2 separate regions of the Homo sapiens genome follow, and region 1 is linked to region 2. The links are contacts of gene promoters, found by promoter capture Hi-C in human tissues and cell types (Jung and others, 2019). All regions are on one chromosome and are shown on one strand. Each heading gives the region's core, a stretch centred on a gene start or on the middle of the fragment in contact. The rest is flanking DNA. Distances are from core to core; before and after follow the strand shown. Region 1 overlaps PDXK (pyridoxal kinase). Region 2 holds the start of RRP1 (ribosomal RNA processing 1).

The links. Contacts are between HindIII fragments. The study calls those that stand out against the background at their distance.
Region 1: a contact is called between a fragment that was not itself captured here and the fragment with the promoter of RRP1 in region 2, in 1 of the 25 tissues and cell types used here (mesenchymal stem cells).

Annotation. Positions count from the first base shown.
Region 1 is chr21:43,747,879-43,755,532 of GRCh38, reverse strand. PDXK (pyridoxal kinase) reads right to left here. Exons shown (of 11, transcript NM_003681.5): 6 at 6,453-6,538; 7 at 4,988-5,033; 8 at 2,904-3,015; 9 at 1,814-1,950. Among named protein-coding and RNA genes, the nearest start is that of CSTB, 25 kb to the left of the region's middle. The HindIII fragment of the contact is 8,662 bases long and covers 1-6,129 here.
Region 2 is chr21:43,784,102-43,791,877 of GRCh38, reverse strand. It overlaps RRP1 (ribosomal RNA processing 1), which reads right to left and starts at 2,301. Exons shown (of 13, transcript NM_003683.6): 1 at 2,116-2,301; 2 at 446-528. The coding sequence starts at 2,248. RefSeq lists silencers at 1,891-2,060, 2,271-2,500 and enhancers at 2,131-2,240, 4,396-4,936, 4,937-5,478. The HindIII fragment of the contact is 35,062 bases long and covers 1-7,776 here.

The sequences.
Region 1 (7,654 bases), core at 549-3,048, 36 kb after region 2:
CGGACTGCCCACCACGGAGAGCCCGGAGGGCTGAGCAGATGCCCGGTCCCAGCTACCTGCTCTGGACAAGAGATGGCTCACAGAAGGGACAGCCTCGTGACCTGCATAGAACTTGGCAGGCAGCAGGAGCTTGGTAGGAGTTCCCAGAATTAACTCCTTATAACGAGTCTACAAGGGGAAGTGCTCCTGCCGAAAGCCCAGCCAATCATCACTCAGTGATGCCTCAGAGTCAGCCAATCATCACTCAGTGATGCCTCAGAGTCAGCCAATCATCACTCAGTGATGCCTCAGAGTCAGCCAATCATCACTCAGTGATGCCTCAGAGTCAGCCAATCATCACTCAGTGATGCCTCAGAGTCAAAGGTGCTGGGGAAGCACGGGGAACTCGCTCCCCGACTCCACAACCCTGGGCTGGCCAAACCCAGAATGTGACCTTGGGCGGCCTGGCAGTGAGGCCTCCTCGGGGTGCCAGCTGGCACTTTTCCACTGCCCTGCACCACCAATTAAACACGGCAGGCTTACTTAATGGCCCTGTTTAATTGCCCTTGAGGGGCCAGAAGGGATGGAATGAGGGGGCTGTGCATTCCAGCTCAGGGTGTGCAGAGGGCTAGTCCCATGGGAGGCAAAGGGCCTCAGTCCACCTCTTCCATTTTACACACCAGGACACTCAGCTGAAACTGACTTGTTGGGGAGGAGGTGTACCCCGGGGGACACGTGGCCCCTTAAGCGGCCCGGCAAAGACAGCACAGGGAGAGCCACCTGCAGGTCCTGACCTCTGAACTCTTCCTTCCCCAGCGCACCCAATAGTGACAGAGGTGTCCTGTCTTCCTCCTGTCACTCCCATGGCACCCCTGCCCTGCCCCACATTCCAAAGGGATGGCAGGCCCCTCCCTCCCACCTGAACCCACTGCGGACGCAGTGGGAAGTACCCAGGGGAGTTTTGGGGGCTGAGCCCAGGGGCTGGGGACCACCTCAGAGCACAGCACGGCTCTGGACGGTGTTGTAAGAAGACACACTCCAGGCGTCCTCGGACTCAGCTGACAAAACCACCTGCCGAGGCCACAAGCAACTCTGCTGCATGCAGCACGGGAGGTCACGGATCTGAGCGCCACAGTTGCAACAAAACTCCTCTGTCCCCGCTGAGCTGTGTGCTTACCCATGGGACACACGAGAAAGGCTCACGAGACCCCACATCCCAACCTGCCATGTCAGTTGCCCAACAGTCCCACTCCCCCCACTGTCTAAGCAAAGCCACCCGATCTCTACAAACTTGAAAAGCAGGCAGACATCCAGACAAAACGCCCAGAAAGACGGCTCTCCACACCTGCCTGGACCCCTGTCCTCAGCCTCCCACCTACTGTCCCCGAAGGGCGGCTCCGGCCTTTCCGTCCCTCAGGTCACTGCCGTGGTCACACTGTGGGAAATGCTGCAGGGTGCCACTCCTCTGCAGCAGCCCCCAAGTCACCAAGGACACAACAGCTCCATGCATCCCACAGCCCTGCGCCAACGCCAAGCGGGTGGCATCTGAATCCTGGTGGGACCCCCATGGGTCTGTTCTGAAACATCTGTCACCCAAGCCCTCACAGACTCTGATCATCCCTAGGTCCCAAATAAGGGGAGATGGGAGGCGATGTGAGAGTGACAGGCGCAACTCCTGTCATGGCCTGGCCACTGCCCTCCCCCACAACTGGGGCCAGCACTCAGGGCCATGCCCTGTCAGCTCAGCAGGGACCCCCCACCAGGACTCTCATATCCTGCTCCCCATGAGGTGCCGTGGGAGTGGGCGAGGAGGGGAGCGGTGCGTGTGGCTGACCTTGAGGTTATTGGGGTGCTTGTGTGTCCACGCCAGGAGCATGGCAGCAAACAGGTCCCCAGTGCCCACAAAGACGGCGTCCACTTTGCGAATGTCCATCCGGATGCGTTCCATCACCACGGAGCCAGCGGGATTCCCTAGGGGGAGAAGATGGGCAAGGTCACTGAGATCTGCCGCTCCTCTGCCAGGGCCAGCCTCCCATCCCTGATCCTCCTGGGCACGGCGGCAGGGAGGGTCACAGGGGCAGAGCACAAGGTGGCCTTGCTCAGGACGTGGGGGCTCAGGGCATGCATGGGGTCCCCATCACCGCAGCAAGGGAAAGGGAAAGACTGCACCCTCAGAGGGCCACACGGTCAGGCCGCCTCGGGGGTCGCTGTGAAACTCCCGAGAGTAACGACGGCGTGAAGAACTAGGATGTACCTGGACGCATCCGAGTGTGTGTGCATGTGTGTGCGTGTGCCCACGTGTATGCATGTGTGTCCGTGTGTATGCATGTGTCCGTGTGCATGTATGCCTGTGTGTGCCCGTGTGTATGTGTGCATGTATGCCTATGTGTGCCCATGTCCACGTGTGTGCCCGTATGTGCATTTGTGCCCAAGTGTATGTGCATTTGTGCCTATGTGTGTGCCTGCAAGGCTCCCATGTCCAAACATAGAGCGGCAAGGAGGTCACAGCTGTTCTTTTGGGCCCATGGGTATGAACCCGCGGCCACTAGCTTAGTGCATGGCCCCAGCCTTCTGCGTCATTTTCACACTGTTCAGAGAAAATCAACCAGGTGGTGTCTGTGTAAACAATCAGCACAGCCGGGTGGACGCGTCCTCCCAGTGAACTCAGGGACCCCGCCTGGCTCTGAGGGAGGCCTATGATGCTGGGTCCGTGGAAGCCAGTTCCAGCCAGGCCATTCATCGTGACCTGTGAGGTCTTGGGAATCCCACCTGATCCCTGAGAGTCTGTAAAATGGGGGTGTCATCCCGGTGCTGGATAAGGCTTAAATTTCATGCTATTGAACCCAAAACATTCTTGCAGCCCCAAAGAACACCTTCCTCTGGGAAGAGCAGAGGCGGCCACGGTGCACGATGGGGGCACTTACTCCTCCTCTGACTCCCCAGCACAATCAGGTAGTTGCTGCCCTGCGGGGAGGGCAGGTCGGAGCTGGTGATGACCACGGTGTCGGGGCCCATAGAGTGCAGCATGTCCATCACCTAGCAGTGGCACAGGGAGCGTCAGCCACGGCCGGTCACATGTCAGCCACGGCTGGTCACACCCCACTCCCCGATCCATCACCTGGCAGTGGCACGGGGAGCATCAGCCACGGCCGGTCACACCCCACTCCCCCAGAGCCCGTTCCCAATGGCGGCACTCCCGGAGGGAAGACAGCCACCTGGTCAGCCACCATCCCCCCACAAACTGTCAGCCCAAACCGTGTGGCTCCCCACAGGTGACTGGCGAGGGCCTCCCCCTTGGGGGGTGGACAGATGGGTGCCTGTCCTGCAGCGAGGAGGAGCTGGCCCCTCTGTACGTTGGCTTTTCTGTAACTCTCGTAGAAACTGTCTCCACCGCACGGTTGCCTCAGATCGGGCAGCACGCGCGCGCACACACACACACACACACACACACATGTGCTGCATCGCCACCCAGCACGTGTCCATAGCAGAATCTGGACCCTGCTCCAGGGTCAGCTGACTCTGCAGTCCCAGGACCCAATACCAGGTCAGCGAAAGGCCTCCGAGTGGGAGGAGTGGCTGCTGCAGTGGCCCATTCTCAGGACCAGGCTCCTGGGTTGTGAAGACAAAATTCAGGGCAGCGCCAGGCTGCTTGGGAACGCAGCCCAAAGCACATGGACTCCTGCTGCAGTCTGACAGTGTCTGCTCTAAAATGCATGTTGAAACATGGCACCCATGTGGCAATATTCAGAAGGGGTCCTCTGGGGCATGATTAAGTCATGAGGGCTCCCCTTTCTCTGTGCCTGATGAGGGCTGGAGGGAGCAGCATGGGCCCCTCGAGCCCCCTGCCATCCACACATGAGGATGCAGCAACAAGGTGCAGTCCGGGTAGCAAAGTAGCCCCCGCCAGACCCTGAGCCTGCCAGTGCCTTGACCTTGGACTTCCCAGCCTCCAGAACTGTGGGGAACAAAGTTCTGTTTTGTTTTGTTTTGTTTTGTTTTTTGAGATGGAGTCTCGCTCACTCTGTTGCCCAGGCTGGAGTGCAGTGGTGCAATCTCAGCTCACTGCAACCTCCGCCTCCTGGCTTCAAGCGATTCTCCTGCCTCAGCCTCCCAACTAGCCGGGATTATAGGCGTGCACCACCATGCCCAGCTAATTTTTGTATTTTTAGTAGAGATGGGGTTTTACCATGTTGGCCAGGCTGGTCTCGAACTCCTGACCTCAAGTGATCTGACCACCTCAGTCTCCCAAAGTGCTGGGATTACAGGCGTGAGCCACTGCATCCGGCCAAAAGTTCTGTTTTTTATAAATCATCCAGTCTCAGGCATTTTGTCACAGCAGCCCCAACAGACTAAGATGACTCAACCAAGGTTCAATGCTAGCAAGACACGCACGGTCTCCAAGTCCCGGAGAAAAAGGACTTTGAAGAAACTGCACCTTGGGCTGCTGCATCTGCTCCTGTGTCCAGCCTCCAGCCTGCCCTTCCCAACAGCTGGCCCTGCAAATCCCAAACATGCCCAGGAGCCCCCACACAGCTCAAGCCACCGCCTTACAATAGCTCTTCACACACATGTGCACACACACACACACACATGCACACACATGTGCAAACACGTGCACACATACGCACACACATGCACACATGCGTGCACACCCATGCCCACACGCCCATGGACACACATGCACACAGACGCACATGCACATGTGCACACACACACGTGCACACATGCACACATGGGTGCGCGCACACACGCACACATCCACACACACACCCACACACAATACGCGCGCACACACGCACACATGCACACACACACACACATGCACAAACATGTCCACACATGTACACACACACATATATCCTGCTGATCTCTGGAGGCCCCGACTGGTACAGACTGTTCAGTCACTGCTGGGGAGAAATGACACAGTGGTGCCACTCAGGCAGCCTGTCTCCCGTCCCCACCGTGAGCGGCACATGTGCCCCGCACAGGCCCCAGAGGGCCTCCTTACCCGCAAGGCTTCCTCCTGGCTGTGGATCTTCCGGCCACTCAGTAACCTGGAAGACAGGCGGGGACAGGCGGGTGGGGACAGGTGAGCCTCTCCTCTCCGGGTTGTGTGTTGACATTCCCCAAACCGCAGCGGCTCTGGAAATCCCCATCCCCACAGGCAGCTAACTCTTCGTCCACTGGCCACCCTGGGCCGGGGCCCCTGCAACATGTGGGGTTTGGTTCTAAAGGGGACCCTCACATTACAGGAGTCACGTAAGGCCCAATCATGGCTGCTGTTTATACGTAACCGTGGTGATGGACAGCAGCCACGGCCCCCACTTAAGGCCCATGCCACAGCGCAGGGTCTCAGCATGGGTGACTGACATCCATACAAAGTCAAAGAGCCGCTAGCGATTAATGCACGCATGGGCCACCCATGGCTCAGGGGCCTCGAGTGAGATGCCACCCCCAAGTTTGGACAGGCCCAGGTCAGGGATCCCAGGCCTCCAAGAGTCCAGGCGCCCCCACCCCTGCGTGAATGGGGGGGCTCAAGACCTGGCTCAGGGCCAGGTAGAGCTAAGCTGTGACAGGCACCAGCCCCCTCCGCGGGCAGCTCCACTCTTCATGGCACTGGGGCGCTGGTGGCTTCCCCTGGTGTGTGATTCTTCAGCTGGGGGGAGCCATGCACCCAAAGAAAGACCTTTTCAAACTCGGTATCAGACAGCCAAGCCCAACACACTCCTCTTCCCCTCACAGGGCGGCAGGTGACCTGGCCGCCTGTGCTGCCCCCACCCTCCCTCTGCTGTGGTGGCCCCGACAAGCCCACAGCTCCCCAGGTCGCCCCTCCTCTTCCTCTCCCAGGGGCCCTGCCGCTCAGGAAGGCACAGGGGCAGCAAAACCATCCCCATCACCCATGGCTGCCACCACCAAAGAGAAGACGTGAGCCTGGGACCCAGGTGGGCAGGGGCTTCTCCAACCCAGGCGCCCCCACCACATCCTGCTCCAGTATCAAGGGGCACTCGCCCCATGGCAGGACCTTCCTGAGAACCACTTCGTAAGCTAAACAGGCAGCCCGAAGGCAGAGTGGAGACCCTTCTGGCATGTTCTCTGCAGCTCTCCCTGGGGAAAGACTGGTAGCATTTGCCATTTAAAATAACTTACTCTGCTGGGCACGATGACTCATGCCTGTAATCCCAGCACTTTGGAAGACTGAGATGGGTGGATCACCTGAGGTCAGGAGTTCAAGACCAGCCTGGCCAACATGGTGAAACCCCGTCACTACTAAAAATACAAAAATTAGCCGGGCGTGGTGGCTCACGCCTGTCATCCCAGCTACTCGGGAGGCTGAGGCAGGAGAATTGCTTGAACCCCGGAGACAGAGGTTGCAGTGAGCTGTGATCGTGCCACTGCACTCCAGCCTGGGTGACAAGAGCGAGACCCATCTTGAAAAATAAATAAATAAAGTAAAATAAAATAAAATGACTTACTCGGCCTCAAACTGGTTGGGCGTGATAATGTCTGCAAGCGGCACCACTTTTTCTTTGTAGACGGGAAGGAGGTCCTCCGGGACGTACTGGCCAACAAAGGAGACAGGAGGAGAGGCTGAGTCACCGTGAGGGAAGCACGCCAGGGGGCGCGGAGGGAAGCCCACCACGGAGTGCTCCCCCAAAAGCCCCCTGAAGTCCAGGCTCAGGGGCCAGGCCCCCCGACTGTAGCGATAAGTTGTTCCCACCACGGGGACAGCGTGTGGCCGAGGCACACTAGAGTGGGGAACCCTAAGTGCTCCGAGGGGCCGAGGGAGGACTCAGGGCGCACAGTGGGTCCCCACAGAGTGTCTGGGAGGAGAAGGAGGTGAAGGAGAGAGGGAGGGAGGGAGGAGGGAGACGAGGAAAGGGAAACCCCACAGGTGGATGGAGCAGCCCTGGTCATCTGGTGAGGGCTTGGGGGTGCTGGCCATGTCCATCTGCGACTGGGAGCCCAACCCGCCAGCTCTTCCTGGCTGAGTCAATGCACCCTTCATCTAGTTTTTGTCTAAGTTGCCTGACAAACAATTCAACACTTTTTTGTTTTGTTTTGTTTTTTGAGACAGTTTCGCTCCTGTTGCCCAGGTTGGAGTGCAATGGCGTGGTCTTGGCTCACTGCGACCTCCACCTCCTGGGTTCAAGCGATTCTCCTGCCCCAGCCTCCCGAGCAGCTAGGATTACAGGCGCCTGCCCCCACGCCCGGCTAATTTTTTTTAGTAGAGACGGGGTTTCGCCATGTTGGCCAGGCTGGTCTCGAACTCCTGACCTCAGGTGGTCCACCCGCCTCAGCCTCCCAAAGTGCTGGAATTACAGGCGTGAGCCACTGTGCCAGGCAACACATGGTTTTCTTTAGCGATCAAATTTAAGCCGGAGGCAGTGCGAAGCTCTGGAAGAATTCTGTGGGCTTCATGGAACATTTCAGCAGCCCCTGCTGGCTGAGTGGCCTGAGTTTCCAATCCCTTCACTTCACTTTGCTCCCGGAAACCTCCCTTGGAGATCAGAGGCCCCACAGGAGGCATGTCTGCACCTGGTGCTCAGAGCACACAAAGTGGTCACACGCCGGCCGCTGCTCCAGACATGGCTTAGGAGGCACTAAGGATGGGTGGGTGGCACGTGGATGTCCCCGATCCCTGGACCAGGAAATCGAAGGAAAGCTCTTTAGAGCC
Region 2 (7,776 bases), core at 1,052-3,551:
AGCCGTGCCGAACCAAGCGTCAAGGCTATACGACCTCCCCACGGTCTCTGGCCATATTAAAACTGGGTTGACCAGGCCGGGCGCGGTGGCTCATGCCTGTAATCCCAGCACTTTGGGAGGCCGAGATGGGAGGATCACTTGAGCTCAGGAGTTCGAGACCAGCCTGACCAACATGATGAAACTCTGTCTCTACTAAAAATACAAAAAATTAGCCAGGCATGGTGGCAGGTACCTGTACTCCCAGCTACTTGGGAGGCTGAGGCAGGAAAATTGCTTGAAACCAGAAGGCTGAGGTTGCAGTAAGCCGAGATTGAGCCACTGCACTCCAGCCTGGGCAACAAGAGCGAAACTCCGACTTAAAAAAAAAAGAAAAACTGGGTTGACCAGATGCCCATCCATCCTCCCCCGCTGCTTCTGTACCTGCTCTGCTGCTCCCCCCACTCACCTGGAGGAGTGGCTTGTCCTGCATCCACATGCAATAAAACAGTCCTTTCCACACCTTCAGCAGCTCGTCGTGCGTAAAACCACCTGCATCAAAACAGCAACGGTTGGACCAAATGAATCCCACACCTTCGAGTGCCAGAAAGGAAGCCACAGAAACGTGACTGCCTGAATGAGACCAAAGTCCCACTTACGGTAAAGGCAACTGGGGGGCAGAATCTGGCCCTCCCCTTCAAACAATCCTTCTAACCCAGAACCTGCCGCGCCTGTGGCTATGCGGCTACTCCAGGTAACTGCTACTTCACGCACACAGTAAAACCGACTGAGATCTACAAGGTATCAGGCACCATACTCCATTTTGGAAATTCAAAATTGCGAACCTTGACGGTTTCCTAAGCTGGACAGTGGCCACAAGGTTAATCTGTTGGTGATAATTCATCCAGCATTATACTGAGGGCTTCTGCACTCTCCTGTAATATATCTCAAATACTAAAAGAAGAAAGTGAACTCAGGCATTCAGACTACGAGAGAAACAGAAATTACTGAGGCCAGGTGCGGTGGCTCACGCCTGTACTCCCAGCACTTTGGAATTGAGTGCTGAGGCAGGATCACTTGAGGCCAGGAGTTCAAGACCAGTCTGGGCAACATAGGAAGACCCCAATTTGTACAAAAAATACAAAACTTAGCTGGCCTGGCCGCACGGTGCCAGTAGTCCCAGCTATTGGGGAGGCTGAGATGGGAGGCTCACTTGAGCCTGGGAGGTAGAGGCTGCAGTGAGCTGTAATCGTGCCAATGCACTCCTCCACCACGGATGACAGTGAGGTCTGTCTCACTCAGAAAAATAACAAAAAATTTTAATTTAAAACATTACTCAGTTGACATTCACTGAAGTCCTATGTGTCTGGCAACCTGTTCCTGCAGCAGTGGTTCTCAGGCTGAGTGTGGGGAGCAGAAGCACTTGAACAGCTTCATAAAGCAGATGCCAGTCCTGATTTAGTAGGGCTGGGATCCTAGAACTTGCATTTCTTTCTTTTCTTTTGCGATGGAAATGGAGTCTTGCTATGTTGCCCAGGCTGGACTCCTGGGCCTTTGTGATCCTCCCACATCGACGTGCCAAGTAGCTGGGATTACAGGCTTGGGCCACTGCGCCCGGCATAGAACGTGTATTTCTAACAAATGTCCAGGGGATGCTACTGCTGATGGGGGACCACGCTCGGAGAACCACCTGGTACCATGAACAAGAAGTAGATTCTCGGCCCTCAGAGAGGTACTCTCGAGTGGAAATCGGAAAACAATCCAATAATTAACGCAAAACAGAAAACTGCAAACAGTGGGAAATGCTGCCATGAGGGAAAAATACTGGGTGCCCAAACAGCAGGGCAGCAGGAGTACATGGTCTACTGGAGGGAGGGGACGCCTGAGCTAGGAAAGGGGTTACGGGGCTGGGGAGGAGCGTTCTCGCAGAGGGACCAGAGTCACCGCACCACGAGGGAAAGCGGCGGCGGGGGCCGTGGGCCGGTAACAGCGGGAACAGGCCAGTGGACCCCGCCTGCCCGGCCCGGCCACGTGGAGGTTCCACAGGGCTCGGAGGGCCCCCAGCTCCGGCCGCCGCCGCCCACACCCGCACCAGCCCAGCCGGCCCCCGAGACGCCAGCCGCCCACACCCCCGCCAACCTGCGGCCCGCTGAGTCCTGGCGACGATGTATTTCCGGAGCTTCCTCACCGCCCGGTCCCGGGTCACCTGCTCATTCCCCGCCAGGCGCTGAGCCAGCTGGATCTCAGGCGGGAGCTGCACGCGCGAAACCATGACGCCGACGGCCGAGACCCCCTGTCCCGGAGTCGCCTGGTACCCAGCACACTGAGCACGCGCCTCCTGCGCCCGCCTCCTCCTGGCCCCGGCGCGTGGCGTGACGTCACAGCCCGCGACACCGCCCAGGCGCACGCCACCGCCGCGCAGTGGCCGAGCCGCGCAACTGCAGCCCCCGGAGGCCGAAGGCTACAGAGGGGGCGCGCGCTCCCTGCCTGTGCGCATGGGCGGAACCAGCGAGCGCGCGCCTGCGCCTGCGCCTGCGCCTCGCTGGGGCTGCGGTGGGTCGGGATTCTGAGGCAAAGATCTGTTGTTTTTTAATCTCATTTTATTTATAACCCCACTTGTATTTTTTTCCTGAGACAGGGTCTCGCTCTGTTACCCACGCTGGAGTGCAAGGCGCGATCTCGGCTCACTGCAGCCTTTGCCTCGCGGGCTCCAGGGATCCCCCAGCCTCAGCCTCCCGAGGAGCTGGGACCACGGGCGCCACCACTCTCGGCTCGAAACTTTATTTTTAAAACCAGGGGTGTGCCGGGCGCGGTGGCTCACGCCTGTAATTCCAGCACTTTGGGAGGCTGAGGCGGGTGGATCACGAGGTCAGGAGTTTGAGACCAGCCTGACCAACATGGTGAAACCCTGTCTCTACTAAAAATACAAAAATTAGCCAGGCGTAGTGGCGGGCGCTTGTAATCCCAGCTACTCAGGAGGCTGAGGCAGGAGAATTGCTTGAATCCGGGAGGCGGAGGTTGCAGTGAGTCGAGATTGCGCCGCTGCACTCCAGCCTGGGCGACAGAGTGAGACTCTGTCTCAAAAAACAACAACAAAAAAAAAAACGGGGAGGCTGCATTTGGCCTAGGGCCACAGTTTGACATACCCTGAAGTAGAAAAATATTCTTTATTTTTAGAAATAACTGCAGAACTCTTTGGTAAAGGTGACCTGTCATGATGTCTGTAATTCATTCTGCAAAAAAGTAAATCATTACACGCACATATGTGTATGCAGATAAGCAACTATGGCACACTGTTAACAGTTGTGGCGTTGGCCGGGCGCGGTGGCTCACGCCTGTAATCCCAGCACTTTGGGAGGCCGAGGCGGGCGGATCATGAGGTCAGGAGATCGAGACCATCCTGGCTAACACGGTGAAACCCCGTCTCTACTAAAAACACAAAAAATTAGCTGAGCGTGGTGGCGGGCGCCTGTAGTCCCAGCTACTCAGGAGGCTGAGGCAGGAGAATGGCGTGAACCCCGGAGGCGGAGCTTGCAGTGAGCCGAGATCGCGCCACTGCACCCCAGCCTGGGTGACAGAGTGAGACTCCGTCTCAAAAAAATACAAGTGTGGCGTCTACAGGCAGGAATACAGGTCTTCATTGACCTATCTTCTGACATTTTCTATGTATGAAATTTTTCATAAAAAGTTGAAAAGGCTGGCAGTGGTGGCTCATGCCTGTAATCCCAACCATCACTTGGGGAGGCCAAAGCAGGTGGATCACCCGAGGTCAGGAGTTCGAGACCATCCTGGCCAACATGGTGAAACCCCATCTCTACTAAAAATACAAAAATTAGCTGGGTGTGGTGGCGAGCACCTGTAATCCCAGCTACTCGGGAGGCTGAGGCAAGAGAATTGCTTGAACACAGGAGGCGGAGGTTGCAGTGAGCCAAGATCCGGCCACTGCACTCCAGCCTGGGCGACAGATTTTGAAACTCTGTCTAAAAAGAAAAAAAAAAGGAAACATTTAGCAACTGGTTTTAGAATCTGAATTAGTTCTTGTTGTTGTTGTTGTTGTTGAGACAGTTTCACTCTGTCGCCCGGGCTGGAGTGCAGTGGCACGATCTTGGCTCACTGCAACCTCCACCTCCAGGATTCAAGCAATTTCTGGCTAATTTTTGTGTTTTTAGTAGAGATGGGGTTTCACCATGTTGGCCAGGCTGATCTCGAACTCCTGACCTCAGGTGATCGGGCTGCCTCGGTCTCCCCAAAGTGCTGGGATTACAGGCGGGAGGCACTGCACCCAGCCAGCCTCTCCTCTTCTTATGAGGACGTCAGTCAGTGTGGACTTAGGCCTGCCTTAATTTAGCATGACCTCATGTTAACTAACCATGTCTGGAAAGACCCGTTTACCAAATTAAGGCCACATTCCGAGGTTCCAGCGGACATGACTTTCCGGGGGACAAGCACGAATGAGAAGAGGCCCTGCACTCACACAGTGGGTATGTCGCACGCACACACTGGGTATGTCACGCACAGTGGGCATGTTGCACGCACACAGTGGGCATGTCAGGCGCACAGTGGGTATGTCGCACGCACACAGTGGGTATGTTGCACGCACGCAATGGGCATGTCAGGTGCACAATGGGCATGTCAGGCGCACAGTGGGTATGTCTCGCACACAGTGGGTATGTCGCATGCACACAGTGTCAGGCACACAGTGGGTATGTTGCACGCACACAGTGGGTGTGTCGCGCACAATGGGCGTGTCAGATGCACAGTGGGTATGTCGCGCACAGTGGGTATGTCAGGTGCACAGTGGGTATGTGGCACGCACACAGTGGGCATGTCAGACGCACAGTGGGCATGTCACGCGCACAGTGGGCATGTCGCACACACACAGTGGGCATGTCAGGCGCACAATGAGCATGTCAGGCGCACAGTGGGTATGTCGCGCACACAGGGTGTGTCATGCGCACAGTGGGTGTGTCGCACGCACAGTGGGTATGTCGCACACACACAATGGGTATTTCACGCGCACAGTGGGTATGTCGCACTCACACAGTGGGTATGTCGCGCGCACAGTGGGTATGTCAGGTGCACAGTGGGTATGTCGCATGCAAACAGTGGGCATGTCGCACGCACACAGCGGGCATGTCAGGTGCACAGTGGGCATGTCGCGCGCACAGTGGGTATGTCGTGCGCACAATGGGTATGTCGCACGCACACAGTGGGTATGTTGCACGCACATAGTGGGCATGTCAGGCGCACAATGGGCATGTCAGGTGTACAGTGGGTATGTCATGCAAACAGTTGGTATGTTGCACACAGTGGGTATGTCGCATGCACACAGTGGGTGGTATCGTGCATGCAATGGGCATGTCAGGCTCACAGTGGGTATGTCAGGTGCACAGTGGGTATGTCTCGCACATAGTGGGTATATCAGGCACATAGCGGGTATGTCACACCCAGCTGCTGAGAACAGGGTGGGAGGGACTAAGCTGTACTAGGAGGGTGAAGTTGTGCACTGGGGAGCACACCTTCACACCAGGCTCGAGATGCCAGGCTTCAGACGGAAAGGACATGGCAGGTGGTCTCTAAAGATATGGAAGACTAAGATTTGGAAATCGAATAAAGTGGCTTTTAAAAAATCTCTTCTCGGGCTGGGCGTGCTGGCTCATGCCTGTAATCCCAGCACTTTGGGAGGCTGAGGTGGGTGGATCACGAGGTCAGGAGATCCAGACCTCATAGGTGAAACCCGTCTCTACTAAAAACACAAAAAATTAGCTGGGTGTGGTGGCGGGCGCCTGTAGTCCCAGCTACTTGGGAGGCTGAGGCAGGAGAATGGCATGAACCTGGGAGGCAGAGCTTGCAGTGAGCCGAGATAGCACCACTGCACTCCAACCTGGGCGACAGAGTGAGACTCCGTCTCAAAAAAAAAAAAATCTCTTCTGCTGGCATGACCTGTTGAAGGCAGAAACAAAAACGCTCTCCAGGGTAACCTCCTCCCCCTTTTTTTTTTGACAGAGTCTTGCTCTGTCACCCAGGCTGGAGTGCAGTAGCGTGATCTCAGCTCACTGCAACCTCCGCCTCCCAGGTTCAAGTGTCTCCTGTGTCAGCCTCTTGAGTAGCTGCAACTACAGGCGCCCACCACCACACCTGGCTAATTTTTGCATATTTAGTAGAGACAGGGTTTCGCCATGTTGCCCGGGCTGGTCTCGAACTCCTGACCTCAAGTGATCAGCCCACCTCAGCCTCCCACAGTGCTGGGATTACAGGCGTGAGCCACCACGCCTGGCCACAGTATAACCCATTTCTGACTGAAAGTCACACTAGGGCTCAGCCTTAAGGAAAACTAAGTTTAAACCTCTTTTTCACTGTATTTTCTCTTTTCCCCCGGGCTAGAGGTGGAGACAAGAAAATATGACCTGGTTTTTAATGAATATTAAAGACCAAAATTTCAAATTTTTAAACGGCCTGAAATGTCCCACTACTTTTATTTTATTTTATTTTATTTATTTTTTTAAGAGACAGAGTTTCACTCTATCTCCCAGGCTGGAATGCAGTGTTGCAATCACAGCTCACTGCAGCCTCGACCTCCAGGGCTCAAGTGATCCTCCCACCCCAGCCTTCTGAATAGCTGGGACCACAGGTGTGCATCACCTCAGCTAGCTAATTTTTTATTTTTTGTAGAGATGGTGTGTTAGTCAGGGTTTTCTAGAAGGACAGAACTAATAGGATATATATATATATATCCTATTTTATATATATATATATATCCTATTTTATATATATATATATATCCTATTTTATATATATATATATATATATATATACACACACACACACACACAAAGGGGAGTTTATTAATTATTAACTCTCACGATCACAAGGTCCCACAGTAGGCTGTTTGCAAGCTGAGGAGCAAGGAGAGCCAGTCTGAGTCCCAAAACTGAAGAACTTGGAGTCCGATGTCCGAGGGCAGGAAGCATCCAGCACGGGAGAAAGATGTAGGCTGGGAGGCTAGGCCAGTCTCGTCTTTTTACATTTTTCTGCCTGCTTTATATTCTAGCCTTGCTGGCAGCTGATTAGATGGTGCCCACCCAGATTAAGGGTGGGTCCGCCTTTCCCAGCCACTGACTCAAATATGAATCTCCTTTGGCAACACCCTCACAGACACACCCAGGATCAGTACTTTGCATCCTTCAGCCCAATCAAGTTGACACTCAGTATGAACCATCACAGATGGGGTCTCATTACCTTGCACAGTCTGATCTTGAACTCCTGGGCTCAAGCGACCCTCCCACTTTGGTCCCCCAAAGTGCTGGGATTACAGGCATGAGCCATCATACCTGGCTGCCACTATTCATTTTCCTGATTGGTGATATGCTCTCGAGAATTATGAGTCAAGGGCTTAGCCTCAGGCTTATCTACTGTGGGTCAAACAATGCATGAACATGTTCAGAGGTGTTTGAACCAGAGCGACTCCATCTTGAATAGGAGCTGGGTAAAATGAGGCTGAGACCTACTGGGCTGCATTCCCAGATGGTTAAGGCCTTCTTAGTCACAGGATGAGATAGGAGGTCAGTACAAACTACAGGCCATAAAGACCTTGCTGATAAAACAGGTTGCAGTAAAGGAGCCGGCTAAAACCCACCAAAACCAAGATGGCCACAAGAGTGGCCTCTGGTCATCCTCACTGCTACACTCCCACCAGCACCATGACAGTTTACAGATACCATGGCAACATCAGGAAGTTACCCTATATGGTCTAAAAAGGGGAGGCATGAATAATCCACCCCTTGTTTAGCATGTCATCAA